Regions from separate parts of the Homo sapiens genome. Here region 1 is linked to region 2. The links are contacts of gene promoters, found by promoter capture Hi-C in blood cells and fetal thymus (Javierre and others, 2016). All regions are on one chromosome and are shown on one strand. Each heading gives the region's core, a stretch centred on a gene start or on the middle of the fragment in contact. The rest is flanking DNA. Distances are from core to core; before and after follow the strand shown.

What was found. The method cuts DNA at HindIII sites, captures the fragments that hold promoters and counts their contacts. A CHiCAGO score of 5 or more calls a contact.
Region 1: a contact is called between a fragment that was not itself captured here and the fragment with the promoter of THBS4-AS1 in region 2, in 1 of 17 cell types (endothelial precursors). The highest score is 5.5, in endothelial precursors.

The regions. Positions count from the first base shown.
Region 1 is chr5:79,012,797-79,015,496 of GRCh38, forward strand. All of the region lies in intron 14 of DMGDH (dimethylglycine dehydrogenase), which reads right to left. Among named protein-coding and RNA genes, the nearest start is that of ARSB, 29 kb to the left of the region's middle. The HindIII fragment of the contact is 2,899 bases long and covers 1-2,700 here.
Region 2 is chr5:80,082,281-80,084,980 of GRCh38, forward strand. It overlaps THBS4-AS1 (THBS4 antisense RNA 1), which reads right to left and starts at 1,385. Exons shown (of 8, transcript NR_109930.1): 1 at 1,220-1,385; 2 at 80-257. THBS4 (thrombospondin 4) reads left to right here. Exons shown (of 22, transcript NM_003248.6): 21 at 126-265; 22 at 800-1,007. The coding sequence ends at 861. RefSeq lists silencers at 694-783, 1,899-2,113. The HindIII fragment of the contact is 5,954 bases long and covers 1-1,401 here.

The DNA of each region.
Region 1 (2,700 bases), core at 160-2,659, 1.1 Mb before region 2:
GCAGCTGGGATGCAGGGAGCAGTGTCCCAATGCCATGCAAGGCAGTGGGGCCTTGGGCCTGGCCCACAAAACATTCATTCCTCTTAGGCCTCTGGGGCTGTGATGATAGGGATTGTTGTGAAGGTCTCTGAAATGCCTTCAAGACCTTTTTCCCCAGTGTTTTGGTTATCAGCACTTGGCTCCTTTTTACTTATGCAAATGTCTCCAGCCTGCTTGAATTCCTCCCCAGAAAATGGGCTTTTCTTTTCTACTACATGGTCAGGTTGCACATTTTCCAAACTTTTACACTCTGCTTCCCCTTTAAATATAAGTTCCAACTTCAGGTCATTTCTTTGTTCACACACATGAGCATTGACTGTCAGAAGTAGCCAGGCCACATCTTGAATGCTTTGCTGCTTAGAAATTTCTTCCACTAGATACTCTAAATCATCAGTCTCAGTTTCTAAGATCCATAGATCCCTAGGGCAGGAGCACAATGCAGCCATGTTATTTGCTAATGCATAACAAAAGTGACCTTTATTCCCATTCCCAATAAGTTCTTCATTTCCATCTGAGACCTCCTCAGCTTGGCCATCTCTGTCCATATCATTATCAGCATTTAGGTCACAACGATTCAACACATCTCTAGGGAGTTTCAAACCTTCTCTCATCTTCCTGTCTTCTTCTGAGCCCTCCACATCCTTCTAACCTCTGCCCATTACCCAGTTCCAAAGCTGCTTCCACATTTTCAGATATCTTTATAGCAATATCCCACTCCTCTGTACCATTTTTATGTATTAGTTTGTTCTCTCACTGCTATAAAGAAATGCCTGAGACTGGGTAATTTATAAAGAAAATAGATTTAATTGGCTCACAGTTCTGTAGACTATACAGGAAGCAAGATGTGGGCATCTGCTTTGCTTCTGGGGAGGTCTCAGGGAACTTACAATCATGGCAGAAGGCAAAGGGGGAGCTGGCATGTCTTACATGGCAGGAGCAGGAGCAAGAGACAGGAGGGAGGTGCTACATACTTTTAAACAACTAGATCTCATGAGAACCCACTCACTATTGTGAGGACAGTACCAAAGGGGATGTTGCTAAATCATTCATGAGAAACCACCCCCATGATCCAATCACCTCCCACCAGGCTCCACCTCCAACAATGGGGATTACAATTTGGCATGAGATTTGGTGCAGACACAGATCCAAATCATATCACTCCCACACACAGGTAGTTTTCATTCTCTGCCCTTAGCAATTTAAAAGAAAGCACTCATATAGCATTTTTCTAACCAAAATTACTGACCAGTTAAAATTCCTTCTCAAAAATGTTTAATATTACTAGAACAGGAACCATAGTCACTAAAAAAGGGGGATAAAATAGAAACCTGGGAAAATAACTAAAATATAGTTCCTAAGCCAGGCAAGTAATCAGGCTAATTAGCGTTCAAATCAAACCAGATTTTCAAAACTAAAGCCCCCATTACATGTCTTTAATATTAAATCTTACTAGATTTGATGTTAAAGAGAACACTTAATTTTTCGGTTTTTTAATCTGATGATTCAAAGGAAAACTGTGAAATGGACCTGTGGCTTTATCAGATTTATGTTTAACTGCTTTGGCCAACAACTATAATATAGAGTTTTCATAATAGATTTCATCTCTCTAGAGTAGAGTGAAGAACAATTGCCCATTTGATATTTTAAGCATAGCACTTAAGCCTAAATGCAAAGTAAATAATAATCAAAGGAAATTTTAAAAGCATGAAGAAATGAGGCCTCAATAGGGACCCAAGATCTTCCTTACTGGGATCTTAAAAAAAGAAAAAGGATTTCATGTATAGTTCCTTTACTCTAAATGACTTATTTAGATTCAAATCAATAATATGGAAAGGAACTAACACTTAGTGAGGTACCAAATGTTCTTTATCTCATCTAATACTTATGACAAATTTATGGAGTGAACATTTTCTTCATTTTACAGATGAGAAAACTGAAATGCTCATAGATTAAGCAATACATCTAGTCAGAATCAGTAAATGTCAGAGTCACAATTCAAACCCTTCAACAAATATTTACAGAGCCCTCACTAGTGATCAGACACAGGGGTGAGGCTAAGGATTCTTGGCCTCTGTCCTCAAAGTTGAGGAGGTGGTCAGGAATATAAGGCGTGGTCAGTACCAGGGCAGAGGCAAGTGCAGAGTGCTATAGAAAACGGATTCTCAACACTCACCTGCCTCAATGACCACCTATATCTGAAGGGTCCAAAGCCATACTTGCAGAGCTAAGCTCTCCAAACCCACATGCTCAGATGCCTTCTGGGACTCTCTGCTTGGCTACCCCAGAGTCCTCCAACCCAAGTCCTGACAATTTCCCACCCACACCCCTCCACCTGTGTTTCCTAGTTAATCCACAGTTCATTAACATCCTCCTCTCACCCCTTCACATGCAGTCCCTCATGTGGTATCCACCCTTCCTTCTAAATAGCACTCATTGCTCTTTCTTCTCCATCCTATGGCCACTGCTTTAGTTGAAGTCTTCGCCTTCTCTCCACTGGATTTATTTGATAATTAGGAGAATGATCTCCCAGTCATCAGACGAACTCACTTTTAATCTGTTTCCCATCACTAGAGTGTCACTCCTTACTCAAAATTCTTGGGTCACTCCCCAGGTTCTCCAGGATACACTCCAAATTCCTTAGCTTGGCACATGAGACTCTTC
Region 2 (2,700 bases), core at 135-2,634:
TGGAGCCTAAAACAGAGCAAAGAAAGACGCAGGTACGTATAAGAAGTGGGGCCCCTGGGCCTCACAGTGGGCACTTTACCCCGGGTTGGATTTCATGGAGGCCCCTCCGGCCGTGTTGTCCGCAGGGTACGATTTTATGAAGGCTCTGAGTTGGTGGCTGACTCTGGCGTCACCATAGACACCACAATGCGTGGAGGCCGACTTGGCGTTTTCTGCTTCTCTCAAGAAAACATCATCTGGTCCAACCTCAAGTATCGCTGCAATGGTAATGTGCATTCTCGTTACTGTTCAACATTGTTACTAGAATTAGTCAAACACTGCCACCTTATTTTTATACCGCACTTCCCCCCCAAAAGCCCAACGCTCATACCACATAGTCATTAAAACCTGATAGTCCCTGTGTACCAGAAGTAAAAAGCAGATCACATTTATCCTATTTTATCCATGTGGAAATTAAGACCCATAGAATTTAACTGCATGGTTTAGGGTTTGGGGTTCAGTGAGAAATCCAGTCAGATTTAATTTACAGGAAGCCTTTATTTTCATGTGGTTAAAACATAATCACAGATGCAAAATCCATTCTGCCTGCTGATTTTCTGCACGGCCGGGAAGGAGCACTCCTGGGCTTTAAGCCAACGGTTTGCAAAGCAGCCTGCAGGAGAAAATGGCGGCGAGGGCCTGCGGGGCGTCCTGGGCGGGCTAACAGCGCCCCCTACAGGACGCCTGAGCCGCGGGCGGGGGTCCGGGGTCCGGGGTGGAAGGAGCCTCGCTAACCTCCCTGTGCCCATTCCTATTGCAGACACCATCCCTGAGGACTTCCAAGAGTTTCAAACCCAGAATTTCGACCGCTTCGATAATTAAACCAAGGAAGCAATCTGTAACTGCTTTTCGGAACACTAAAACCATATATATTTTAACTTCAATTTTCTTTAGCTTTTACCAACCCAAATATATCAAAACGTTTTATGTGAATGTGGCAATAAAGGAGAAGAGATCATTTTTAAAAACCGTGTTGCTCAGACATTGCTCTCACGTGGCTCAGGCTTTGAGGTGCCCGTTCTCGGAGGGATCCCTGTTAACTTGCAGGGTGGTAGTTTCTTCTCAGACCCGGTGGCCGATAAGATGAGCCTATGCGTGAATCACAAGGCCCAGGCCAGAGGTCTCAGCTGGGGTCCCCCCAGTTTGCTCCATACAAAACGCCTAACCGTTCCATGCTCACCTTGGCAGCCTCCTTATTTCGGGTAAGGGGTCTCAGAAACACGTGTTTGGGGTGGCACCTTCCCTAGGGAGGCGTTTTTCTGACCTAGTCCTGGGACAGATTTGCCCAATTCTTTCTGATGCTGTCATCCCATCCCACACCTTCCACAGACTTCTATTCTGGCCCCTTCAACGTAATTCTTAAGCTTATTTATATATTTGGCTCCCCCTAGTGGACTGTAAGCATATTGACAATAAAGGATCATGTCATTACAATCAATATCCCCACAGTACCTGGAATGTAGTAAATAGCCAGTAAATGTTTACTGAATTAATAAACGAAGAATGAATGAATGAATGCCTCTTAAAGGACAGTAGAGTGTACATGATCATAAAAGTCCTCCTCAACTCAAAAAGTCACAACATATCCTCTATTTGTGGTACCAGTAGCTGGATGTACAGCACAGAAACTTGCCTAATTTGTACACTAGCCTTTCTTGTATTTCAATTGTAAATCAAGATCCAAGCAAATTTTTATAAATTCTCTAGAAATTTTGTTTCAAAGAATATTGCTGTGCGGTTATATATTTTCTTATTCCAGAATTCCTAGAGATATATTAAATCATGTATGAAGAAAAAAACACCACAGTTTTATCATGACTTTAACAGTGAGAAAATACAATGGTGCATGCATGAGATCTGGAGGATTTCTGGACATCCTCCTCTCATGTACAGCCTGGAGATGTGTGTGGCCTTGTAATCCAGGACATCTGATCTCCTACATCAAAAACTCCAATGGGGCCAGGTGTGGTGGCACTTGCCTGTGGTCCCAAGCACTTTGGGAGGCCAAGGCAGGCAGATCACTTGAGGCCAGGAGTTCAAGACCAGCCTGGCCAACGTGGCGAAACCCATCTCTACTAAAAATACAAAAATTAGCCAGGTGTGGTGCCACTTGCCTATAGTCCCAGCTATTTGGGAGGTTGAAGTGGGAGAATCACTTGAGCTGGGGAGGCAGAGGCTGCAGTGAGCAGAGATTGCACCACTGTACTCCAGCCTGGGCAATGAGAGTGAGGCTGGTGAAAGGAGGCAGCAACCCACACCATGCCCACCCCTGGGGCAGCCTCCCTGTTGTCGGCTGTGCAAGCCCAAGAACGCAGTATGTCCACAGGAAACAGACTCTCTTGGTTAAATCTTTTGTGTCTATAACTATTTTAGAAACCATGGGCCCACAGGAGATCCAGAACATAATTCCATCCCTTAGGGAGCTTATTACATTTTTGGGAAGACAAAACTTGTTATTTATGCAAAACAAGAAACAAAGACGCATGTAGAACCAGCAGTGTGCTGAAGCCAACTCCTACCAGCTCATAAGAGCCAACTATTCAAGTTTTAGGAATATTGTGAGCCAGTTAAACGGTTGGTAGTTTGAAATTGGCCATGGTGGGAGTATTTACACAGAAACTGGCAAACACTACAAATCAGGGCTCCAGAGAACTGGTTGTT